2 separate regions of the Homo sapiens genome follow, and region 1 is linked to region 2. Evidence: promoter capture Hi-C in 16 types of primary human blood cells and fetal thymus (Javierre and others, 2016). All regions are on one chromosome and are shown on one strand. The core of a region is centred on a gene start or on the middle of the fragment in contact, and the rest is flanking DNA. Distances in the headings are between cores, read along the strand shown. Region 1 overlaps FRYL (FRY like transcription coactivator). Region 2 holds the start of OCIAD2 (OCIA domain containing 2).

Region 1 (6,315 bases), core at 2,321-4,820, 280 kb after region 2:
GAAAGCCAGATTCTATCCCTCTCCATATTAATGCTTTCCACTGAATTTTAATTGCATTTGGAATGAAATCTAATTTTCTTACAAAGTTCTTAAAGATCTTCTGTGACTTGCTCCCTGACTACTGATTCTGACCTTATCTCATATCCCCTTCCACCTCTGCTTCTTCCCTTGAGCTCCAGCCACACTGGTCTTTCTGTGTTTTAAGCATGCACGTTCAGTCTTGTGTTTTCTGTTCCTGGTGCTTTGTCTTGCTCCCTCATTTTAAAAATCATTTAGGCCTGAGTTTAAGTGTAGCTTCTTCAGTGAGGTCTTCACTGAGCATATTTTCCAAAGTAGTGTTGTTTTTCAGTTCCCCAATCCCGTTCCTGTTTCATTTATTCACACCTGTTTTATTTCCTTTATTGCATTTGACTATCTGATTAGAATCCATTCATTCATTCAGCAAATACTGTGCACCTAATCTATGCTAGGCATTGTTCTAGGTACTTGGGATTTACCATGAACAACAACAACAACAAAAACCAAAAGAGAATCCCTGTTCTTATATTCACATTAGTAGGATAGAGAGAGAAACAGTACATAATATACATGATATGTAATTAAATTATAAATATGTTAGTATGTTAGAAATAGACAAAATGGATTATGGTAGAGGAGATTGGGAGAACTGGTTGAGGGTTAGAGGCAGCTTACAAATTAAATAGGGTAGTTATGGTAGACCTCTTGAGTTGATTTATTAAAGTAGAGTTCTTTTGTTTCTTTTACTTTTAGCTTCAGCGCCAGTCAGCAAAGTAAATAAATACTGTGCTTCTTCCAACTTTCATTCCACTTGGGGAAAAAAAAATATCATCATGTCAAACATTACGATTGACCCAGATGTCAAACCTGGTGAATATGTCATCAAGAGCCTCTTTGCAGAATTTGCTGTTCAAGCTGAAAAGAAAATTGAAGTTGTAATGGCCGAACCCTTGGTGAGTACAGCTGACCTATAAATCTGAAATATTTTCTTGACTTTTGTATTAACCACTATAATGCAGATTTTTCAAAGGAAATAATATACTTGAAAAAAATATTAAGGGATAGTGGTGATGTAGAAAGCTGCACTGACTTTAGAATCCACTTTGATAAGTTGCTGCAGGTCGCAAAAGAACAAAAAGGAACTTCAACAGTGGGAATTGTGGAAACAAATAAAACATAGGAAATAAAGGAAAATTAGGATATAATGTGAGTTAACACTAAGGTCACAGCCAAACTTATAATAAACAAGAGAACATATTTTACATGTATATTGTGTGAGACATACTTGGAGAATGTGAGAAGCTCTATTTGATTAGAGCCCATGATGAGGAGGAGGGAAGAGAAAGACTGAAAACAAACACATGGGTCAGTTTCTAAAGAGTTGTAAATGCTATTGTGATGGATAATATGGTGGTTGAACAATAGAGAGAGAAGACATTGAGAGCGGAGACTATTTAGTTATTGTACATAGTTCAGGCTGGAATGAAAGGGGTCTTGAACTATGGTGTTAGAAGTAGAAATGGTTGCAGAAGAAAGTAAGAGAAATAACAGAAGTAAAATCAATAGAACTTGACAAGTAACTAAGTAGGGGGCATTTTGAATGAAAGTTAAGGGTTAAAGATGCTCTGGAGTGTTAGTAAAGATGATAATATATTTACTTTGGTAAAGTACACAGGAATATCTTTGGGTAGAAAAGGTGGATAAAATAATTTTTCGTTTGCGTACCTTAAGCTTGAGATACTGATGATCTCACCACATGGAATTAGTTGCTTGATTGGTAGTTGGAAATTCTTTTTGAGAACTCAAGAGATGGTAACTAGAAATACAGATTTTGGTATCATCTATATGAGGGTGTAAATTGAAGCCAAAAGAGCAAATGATGATTTCAAGGGAAAGAAAATATAGAATTATTATTGCCAATGACGTAGAGCAGCAAAGTACAATGAACATTGAGAGAAGTGGTTATTGGATTTGGAAATAAGCAGAAATAAAACAGAACAGTTTTACCTTCTTGATATAATTACAGGAAGTAACTTTGACTCTCTGCCAACTTAAATAGGTGACAGTTTAGGTTACTCTTTGGGCTGGAAGGAAGTGGGTATGTGATGTACTAAGAACACAGTGTAGGTTCGATGTGGGATGTTGGGAATGGAGAGGAAGGCGAAGGATGTTGTAACAGCTGAAACTCACTCCTTACACAACTGAATTAGGGATAGCTATTCACCACCAATTTCAGATTCAGAGGGTTTGTGACGGCGCACTGAGGAGTTAGGCACAATAATATATTGGCTTTAGAACCTGTGTGCTTACTCAGCCTGTTATAGTTCCTTAGAAGGATGAGAGAGGAAAACAACAGAAGGGAGGACAGGGCAGGAAGAAAGTTGAAGGAAGTATTGTCAATGCTCTTATTTTCTTAGTGAAGTAGCCTTGAAATTGCTGTGAAGGTGAGTTTCTTCTCAATGATTAAGTAGAGAAAACTACTCTGAGGAAAGCATCTATGAAATAATATGTTCCGGGATCTGATACATAATAATAGCCAAATGTATATTTCAAAACTGTGCAGATGTTTATATTCAGTTTAAATCATCCCATGATTGCTTTCCACATAGCAAATTGATTTTTATACTAATGTATATATATTTTTTGTGTATATTGTATAATGTATATATAGTATATATATAGACAGCATATATATTATTAATATAAAGTTCTGTTTTAGAAGTAAGGATTACAAAAGCCTATAGCATAAGTTCATGATTATAAGATTTGATTATAGATATGCTTAAACTACAAAATGTTAGTTTTCTTTTTCAATGGTCTCTGAATTACATGATAAATTACTACACTAGTCTACTTAAACAGCATACAGTAAGGGAACAACTCTAAACAAATTGAAGAATTTATTATGGAAAATGTCAAACATATATAAAACTAAAGATTATGGTATAATGAACACTTAGGACCCATCACCTGGCCTCAGCCATTTTCAAGTCACACAGCACATTTTAAAAACACTTTATTTTATAAAATGTTTTATAGTAGTATCATGTGATACAGTCCTACCAGTTCTCAATTTTTATATATATATTTATATATTTGAGATTTTGTGTGCGCATATATATATATATATATATATATATATATATATATATTTTTTTTTTTTTTTTTTTTTTTTTTTTTTTTTTTTTGGAGAGACAGGGTCTTGCTGTGTCTCCCAGGCTGGAGTTCAGTGGCGCAATTTTGGCTCACTGCAACCTTCACCTCCCAGGTTCAGGCAATCCTCCCACCCCAATCTCCTGAGTAGCTGAGACTACAGGCATGCGCCACCACACCTGGCTAATTTTTGTGTTTTTGTAGAGATGAGATCTCACCCAAGCTGGTCTCAAACTCCTGGGCTCAAGTGATTCACCTGCCTTGGTCTCCCAAAGTCCTGGGATTATAGACCCACCGCCTCTGGCCATATTATATATTCTCATTCCAAACTTCCCATATATTCCCTCTAACTTAGTCATCCCCCCCTAAGCTAAATGAATATGTATTTTACTGTAATAATTTGTACATACTTCTAGATTATGATGATATCACGTTATAGTTAATTGCTTACATGTTTATCTTCTCCGATGTGAGTTACTCGATACCAGGAACCAGGTCTCTCTCATCTCTGTATCTGTGGCACTGCTTGTGGTGGTGGGTACTCAGTAGAGGGTTTTTGTTAAATATTAGTATTTTAATGAATGTAGCCTTAAGAAGTATTGCTGTGGTGTGTGCCTTTTGTTTTTCTAATAATAATAATAATAATAATGTTTTCATTCTAGCCAGAGCTTCCGATAGTTCTTTCAGAATAGCCTGATGCTATTCATTTATCTTATTAGTTAATTCATTTATTTAATAGTTAATTTTAGAGGCATCTGCTATGTAATCTGAGATTATAAAATTATGATTAATAGTGGTAAGGATTTCATCAGAACGTAGATGTTTCTACTCTGCCATCACAAATAGAAGAGGCATCACTGCTTACTCTTCCTGACACACCAGGAAAACCCCCAAATCACCATCATATTTTACAGATTTTACCCCTTACACTCCTATATACCAAGATAATTTCTTCTTATCTAGAGCAGAGTGCCAGCTTTGTTTTTATTTATGTCCAAGTCTGGGTAAGTTGGGAATCCATAGCTTCAAGATTAGATAATGAAAATACATTTAATCTAATATTGTCACAGTTTTTACAATATAGCTTCAAATGCTTTTATTGGAATTTCATTTATTTTGAAATTTATTCTGTACCCTTTTAGGTAATAATCATCTAAGATGACTCTCTGGGTTCAGAGTCACTTTAAAGAAAATAGCATCCAGGGCTTGTCAGATACAAGGAGGCTGGCCTTGCTCATGGTCAGTCAGGTAGTAGGTTTCAAAAACACAAATGTGAATGGCTTTTGCTGAAAGAATTTAATCTACCACTAAAATGAGAGAATTGGCTTTTTCATTCTTACATTAGAAACCATAATAAAAGAAGATTAAGGAAGCCAAAAGACTCGAAGATTAGCTGAGTTGGATTTTTAGCCACAATTTCATTTTCATTTTAGAAGGAAGATTCAAGAAGGGCAATTGGTGATTGAAATGGCAACTTGCAGGCTATGCAATCCAATACCTTAGGTCCTTTTTTCCTAAAAGGAGATGGATCAATCCTCGGTAATAACCTAGGTATATCCAAGTTTATCTGTTAATCTTTTAGATTGCTGGGGACTAGAAAAGAAGATAGAAGAAAATCCATTTACCTATCTTCTTCTGATTTAGACCTTATGTTTTGATTTAGGCCCAGCATTTTAAAAACTCTAAAATTTTCACTATTTTTTTTGAGAGTATAAATATATGTATGTGTCTTAAAGGGTTTCTTCTCCCTGTATGGTCAGTTTCTTCCAAACTGCATTTTTCTGCTGGTTTTACCTTCTCCTCACATGTTTATTTTAACTTGTTATATTTTAAGAATGAAACACAGTTGATTGGAAGTCCAGTGTACACAGAGGAGCCTTTTTGACTGTGATCTTCTGTGTATTACTGTCAATGGACCATCAGTGTCAGATCTTTTTTGGGGGACTTGTCAGAGTCCCCAAAGAAGGTTCCTACAGTACTCTGAATGGGAGAGTTTAGGCTTTAGCTGCAAGCATTCTGGGGAACTAGACTCAGAAGATAACTGGGGTTTTTGATATTTGGTTTATATATTCTTGCTTAACCTCCCTATCTTCAGTATGGTACCTCTTCAACCATTGTATGCCCCAGTCAGCATCATTGTATTTTGCCCTTTCCTAAGAAAGGCAATGCCTCTGAAGGTAAAGTGAAAGGGAGGGTCTAAATCTTTCTTAAACAAGCTTTTTAAAACAATCTTTCAATCAGCCCTCTTATTTTTATCCTCACCTTTAGCCATACTTTCAGAGTACCCAAGTTCTCCAATTCCTGAGCCTTCTGGGAAGTTCTAAAGCATCAGTTGGGTTATCTTTCCTTTACTCTCTGTGGGTCAAGCTCACTCACTTCCCTCTGGTTGTGCCTCAAGTGTCATCTTCTCTATGATCATGTTATCTGAAATTTCAGTCCCCATTCCAACTTCCTGTCCTAAATCTGTCTGACATAATATACACTTCTTTACTCTCTAATTAGACTGTTAACTCTGTAAGAGAGCGAGTTGTTTTCCGTTTTGTTATGGCTGTATCTCCAGAACCTAGAACAATGTCTGGCATACTGTGAACCCAGTAAATAATTTGGACAAATGAGTGAATGACTGACTGAATGAACAGACTGCCGACTTTCCCCTTTGCTTACTCAGGAGTCACCGTTGTTTGGTGAGATAATTAGTTATGGTCTTCATCTGCTTTTCACCTCCTCTCCCATCCTTTTTGTTCTTTTGTTTTAGCCCTTATAAAAATTATTTCACTGTTCTGTTTTAGGATAGAAGGTTGGCTATACAAGTGTTCAACCTGCCATCTCCAATTACAGATTACTGAAATGTTTCAGTGTCATTGTTACGGTTTCAAAATTTTTCCAAAAATTCTCTTGCTTTCTCTGAAGCTACATATTGCTGTTGGTATCCTACATATGCACTATATGTAGAATTAAATTATAAAATATAGGATTGTGAGCCTTGGAATTATTATTAACTTTTTATAGTATTATGAAAATAACACTATAATACTGTATAATATTATAAAGTATTATAATATTTTATAATTATAATATTACTATAACTTTTATTACTATGAAAATAAGACTATAAAAAGTAGAAATAGTTTTAAAGATTATATA
Region 2 (6,117 bases), core at 3,378-5,877:
TTTGCCAATGACTTCCACACAGGGAGGGGAACATCACGCACCAGGGCCTGTTGGGGGGTAGGGGGAAAGGAGAGGGAGAGCATTAGGACAAATACCTAATGCATATGGAGCTTAAAACCTAGATGATGAGTTGATAGATGCAGCAAACCACCGTGGCATATGTATACCTATGTAACAAATCTGCATGTTCAGCATATGTATCCCAGAACTTAAAGTAAAATTAAAAACAAATAAATAAATAAAATAAAATTTTAAAATGCCATTTTAACATGTAACGTTCCTATTAAAAGCTTTTATCTGGAAAAAAATTAAAAGGAAAGAAAGGAAAAAGGAAGTGAGGGAGGGAGGGGCACAGGAGGGATGGAGAGAGGGGAAAGAAAGACAGTGAGCCTCTTGAAATAAAGGACCATGTATTATTCACTTTTTATTTTGTGCCTCATTAAATTCATTCATCATCATTACCATTTGTGAGTTCATACAACGTACCAGTTACTGAAAAAGATCAGTGCTTGACTGCCCTCACCATTAAGGAGCTCACAGTCAGACAGAATGCCAATGAATGACATCAATGGTTGTAACAGTGTAAGGACAGCCAAAGGACAGTAGGGCCACACTGCTCTGAAACTCATCACTGTAGAGCCCAGGTTAAAATTCTACTGTCACTTCCTGGCTGCATGACTGAGTAAGTTATTAGCACCACTCATGGGACTGCTATGGGGATGAAGTTAAAAGATGATGAAAGCCTGGGCAATATAGCAAAACCCTGTCTCTACAAAAAAAAAAAATTAATTAATTAGCTGGTGTGGTGGTGCATGCCTGTAGTCTCATCCACATGGGAGGCTGAGGCAGGAGGATTGCTTGAGCCTGGAAGTAGAGGCTGCAGTGAGCCATGATTACATCACTGCTCTCCAGCCTGGGCAACAGAGAGAGACCCTGCAAAAAGAAAGGGAAGGGAAGGGAAGGGAAGGGGAGGGGAGGGGAGGGGAGGGGAGAGAGAGGAAGGAAGGAAGGAAGGAGGGAGGGAAGGAAGGAAGGAAGGAAGGAAGGAAGGAAGGAAGGAAGGAAGGAAGGAAGGGAGGGAAGGAAGGAAAGAAGGAAGGAAGGGAAGGGAAGGGAAGGGAAGGGAGGGAGGGAGGGAGGGAGGGAGAGCCAGGCATGGTGATACACACCTATAGTTCTAGCTACTCAGGAGGCTGAGGCAGGAGGATTACTTGAGCCCAGGAGTCCCAGGCTGTAGTGTGCCATTATTGGGCCTGTGAATAGTCACTGCACTCCAGCCTGAGCAACATAGCAAGACTCCCATCTCTAAAAAGAAAAAAAAATAATAAGGTCATGGGAGACCAGAAGCGCAGCTGACACATATGCATAACAGGTATCCCCTGCAGAGTGCGATGGGAGCACAGAAGGTGAGAAACTAAACTTGAGTCTGCAAGGCATCCACGAGGAGGTGACCTCAGAGCCCAGTCTTCAAGAATGAGTAAGAGAGAGGTGGAGAAGCAGAGGAAGGCTGATTCAGGCTGGCTCTCCAGTGCACATAAAAGCATGAAAGGAGAGAACATGAGTCACTCCAGAGGGCCCTGGGAGGGCCTCAGATAGCTGCATTGGAGAGGCAGGCAGGAGCTGAATCACTCAGGGCCCTGCTAATGAATTCAGATCTTGGCTAAGGTCAGTGTAGGGCTGTGGAAAGAGTTTAAGCTGAAACCTGCCATGGACGGTTTGGCACTTTCTAAATCAACCACATTTTTCATAGCATTAGCCAGTGATAATCAATTTTGGATCAGGTCATGATCCGGAGGCCCTGCAGGATGCAGAAGCAAAGCCTAAGAAAGGCTCTGTTGAGGGCCATAGACTTCTACGGCAATGTATATTTATTATAATTCTTTGGGAATTGATATATCCTTTGTGGAAAAGACTCATGTCTTTTTCTATTATCTTTGAAAGTGCTAGAACAATACATGGACACATCAGATTTGCCCAACAAATACCAATTGGTCATAACCGATGCACGTTACATATGATGACTTCTTGCTATTTAAGGTAGTCAATGGCCTATTTGGTGGAAAGTAGAGATGAGGGTGGGGGCCTGGACTGCACTCCAGCCTGAGCAACATAACAAGACTCCCATCTCTAAAAAGAAAAAAAAATAATAAGGTCATGGGAGACCAGAAGCGCAGCTGTCACATATGCATAACAGGTATAACATCTTGCATACCATAGCAAGATGTTAAAGGACAAATGCCACTTAGGTTATGTGTCCATTACACTGACTTCAGTGTAATGGAGGGTTGTTCATTTAAATCACAAAACCTGTTCTGTTCAAACCAGCTGATTTTTTCTGATTTCTGGTAATGCAATGTGAAATTAGCAATAGAATTATATTCCCTTTAATTTGGAGGTGGAAAAAGGAGTGAAAAGGAAATAAGACACACTTTGGTGGGGAGAAAACCAGTGAATCCATGGAGGAATGTGGTCTGGAGGATCTACTAGGGAAATGAACCATCCAAAACAACAGTATCTTGACAGTCATTGAACCTAGGCTCACTTATTCATTCATTCATTCATTCATTCATTCAACAAATATTTATTGAGCCCCTTCTATATCCAAGATGCTACACAATGGTGAACAAAACTGACACCATCTTGTTCTGAACCTCATGAAGATTACTCTGCAGCAGGGAAAATATGCTTTATATAAATGAACACACTAATAAGTACATAATGAGTTGTGATAAGTGCTATGAAGGAAAACAATAGTGTCCTGTGCTATGAAAAAGAAGAAAGGCCTGCCTTAGGCTGGGGTCAAGGAAGATTTTCCTGAGGAACAGTCAAAAAGAAGGAGTAGGAAAAAGCCAGGACAGGACCAATCGGGAGAGGCTGCAGGCAGGGGAGGGCCTCCAGTGGAAAAGAGCTGTGTGAATCTGAGAAACAACAAGTTGGAGGTGTGGATCGGGGAGGCGTGAGGAGGAAGCGGCCACAGGTACAGGGACCAATTCGCACAATAGGAAAAGGTGAGAAATGAAGAGGGCCTTCAGTGGAGATCCACAGCCTCTCTCCAAGTCAACACACTCAGTCAGTCCTGGCAGCTCAGCCCAGAAAACTTTGTCAGCCATGGCTGGGGTAACTGTGTCCAGAGGTGTTTGAACAAGAGCCACTCCATCTTGAATAGGGACTGAGTAAAATAAGGCTGAAACCTACTGGGCTGCCTTCCCAGGTGGTTCAGCATTCTTAGTCACAGGATGAGATAGAAGGTTGGCACAAGGTACAGGTCACAAAGACTTTGCTGATGAAACAGGACTCAGTAAAGAAGCCAGCCAAGACCCACCAAAATCAAGATGGTCATGAAAGTGACCTCTGGTCGTCCTCATTACTCATTAAATGCTAATTTTAATGCATTAGCCTGATAAAAGACCCTCCCACCAGGGCCATGACAGTTTACAAGTGCCATGGCAACGTCAGAAAGTTACCCTATATGGTCTAAAAAGTGAAGGAACCCTCAGTTCCGGGAATTGCCCACCCTTTTCCTGGAAAATTCATGAATAATCCACCCCTTGTTTAGCATAGAATCAAGAAATAACTACCAGTATAATTAGCTAAGCAGCCCACACAGCTGCTCTGCCAGTGGAGTAGCCATTCTTTTTTGTTGTTGTTCTTCTTGTTTTTTGTTTTTTTTTTGTTTTTTTTTTTTTTGAGACAGAGTCTGGCTCTGTCGCCCAAGCTGGAGTGCAGTGGCGCAATCTCGGCTCACTGCAACCTCTGCCTCCGGAGTTCAAGCGATTCTCCTGCCTCAGCCTCCCGAGTAGCTGGGATTACAGGCATAGAGCACCATGCCTGGCTAACTTTTCGTATTTTTAGTAGAGAGAGTGTTTCACCATGTTGGCCAGGCTGGTCTGAACTCCTGAGCTCAAGTGATCTGCCTGCCTTTGCCTCCCAAAGTGTTGGGATTATGGGCGTGAGCCACCGCACCCGGCCTGTTTTCTATACTTCCTTAATAAACTTGCTCTCACTCTACGGACTCACCCCGAATTCTTTCTTGCGAGAAGTCCAAGAACCCTCGCTTGGGGTCTGGATCGGGACCCCTCTCCGGTAACAAGTGATATCGGTATTAAAGGTACCCCCACATGTCAAAGGCTTCCCTCCACAAGTCAGAGTTGGGGAGGGACAGGAGGCAGCAGGGGACCGACAAAGAGCAATGGAAAGAGAAGGCCTGGGAGCCAAGCAGGCCTGGGGTTGACTCCAGGCTCCCTTAGTGGCCTGCACAACTCAGATGACCCGTCTGTGAAGTGCAGGTCACAGTGGGCACCACACACGGCTGCAGAAAGGAGTGCAAAGGTGATGCCCACGCCTGGCCTAGGGCGGGGGCGCAATACATGGCTGTTGCGGCTGTGATTGCTGGAGGAAGGGAGTCATTTGGAAGGCACAAAGGAACTAGAACCTACTCGGTGTCGGGACAAGCCTCAAGGATGGGGCAGGGGTTCCGGCAAGAGCTGGGTTCCAGCCTGGGTTGCCACCAACAGCGAAAGTGACTGCCAGGTGGCAGTAGGGTGACTTCACCAGCTTAAGTGCTTAGCGGGCAGGCGAGGGGGCGGAGCAAGAGAAGAAAACACAAAGGGCCGGAAGGAAGCCGGGGAGACAGGTGGGGTACTCGGGAAGCTGGAGCGGGCCGGCGGTGCAGTCACGGGGGAGCGAGGCCTGCTGGGCTTGGCAACGAGGGACTCGGCCTCGGAGGCGACCCAGACCACACAGGTGAGCCCCCGCCCCGGGGAGTGTTGACGGCGGGAGGGGGTGGCCTCGGGGGAACGCGGCGCCGCAGGGCAGTCCTTCGAAGGCCGCGCGGTGCAGCGGTGGCCGCCCCCCACTCTCCCCTAACTCGGACCCCGGCGGCCCCGGCACGGGCGAGGGGCTGGGGAGCTTGGGGTGGCGCTGGCTGCTTCTGGCCAGGGATGGCAGCGGACTCCAGTAGGCTGACTCCCGGCTTCCCCGACCGCATCAGAAAGTGCAGTGTCCCCCGTCCGCCGTCCAGCCCTGCAGGCGCCCCCCTCCAAGCCATCCTAAGAAGCACCCCCGCCCCCCATGCTGGGGCGCGCCCTCCTCCGCACATTCGTCGGTCAGCACCCACGAACCCACGGGTCCCTTCCCCACCACTGAGGAAACAGAGGGTCCCCGGACCACCCCAGCGTGGGGGGTGGGAGCTACACCTGCAAGGCAAGACCCTCGGAAGGCTTGCTTTTAGGTGCAGACTGAGGACTAAGTGGGTGCCAGGGGACCTGGCCACCGAAGCTGAGAGGTATATTTGCCTCCCAATATAGGGCAGCGGCCTAATGGCTAAGCAAAGATAATCTAATTTGGCGTGGTCAGCAAAGACTTCCTGGGAGTGCTCAGGAAATGGAAGGTGTGCAGGGGCTTTATGGACGTATCCCTCATCCTCATCCTCATCCTAGTCTTCATTCCTGCAAGAGCCCCTCACCATTGTTGTGTCCATTATGCCCAATTAACAGTGGAGAAAGCTGAGGCAGAGACGGATTAAGTCATTTGCACCAAAGGGATCGCAGGGGTAAAGAGTCACGATTTGAACTCTGGTCTCTCTGACCCCAGTACTTTCCCGTGCAGGGCACCGTGCTGCCCCTGTAATCACATTAGACACCTGTGATGAAACTTGGTGCGAGTACGGGTCCCCTTGGCTCAAATGCCTCAAAGTTTAGTAACTGATGTAGGAAACAGAATTGTATATAAGAGGTTCATTTTGCAGAAGAAAAGCAGAGGTAGAGGTAGAGTTCAGGGCTGCAGAATGCAGTGGCCACTGGGGGCAGGAGGAGGCTCAAAGTCCACCTGGATTATGTCCATCATTGCCAAATCCAGGGTCCACTTTTCTAAGCCATGTGATGGTGTTGATGATTCACTCCCTCCTTCAGAAATTCCCTCCCCTCTGTATCAGCTATTCCTTCTCAGTCATTTCCTTGGCCTGCTTTTTTTTTTTTAATCTTTCTTCTCTTTTCGATATTCCCTTGGGCTCAGTGTTCATATTCTCCAGTACTGTTTTTAGACACATTTATTAAAGTTCCCTGCTTTAACTCTCATCTCTATGATGGCAGCTCCCAACTTCATCTCTCTAGCCTACCC

What was found. The method cuts DNA at HindIII sites, captures the fragments that hold promoters and counts their contacts. A CHiCAGO score of 5 or more calls a contact.
Region 1: a fragment that was not itself captured here is called in contact with the fragment with the promoter of OCIAD2 in region 2 in 1 of 17 cell types (total CD8 T cells); the score reaches 5.4 in total CD8 T cells.

The regions. Positions count from the first base shown.
Region 1 is chr4:48,628,947-48,635,261 of GRCh38, reverse strand. FRYL (FRY like transcription coactivator) reads left to right here. Exons shown (of 64, transcript NM_015030.2): 4 at 772-971. The coding sequence starts at 852. Among named protein-coding and RNA genes, the nearest start is that of ZAR1, 140 kb to the right of the region's middle. The HindIII fragment of the contact is 3,638 bases long and covers 1,752-5,389 here.
Region 2 is chr4:48,905,284-48,911,400 of GRCh38, reverse strand. It overlaps OCIAD2 (OCIA domain containing 2), which reads left to right and starts at 4,627. Exons shown (of 7, transcript NM_001014446.3): 1 at 4,627-4,743. RefSeq lists an enhancer at 4,320-4,399 and a silencer at 4,690-4,949. The HindIII fragment of the contact is 6,070 bases long and covers 293-6,117 here.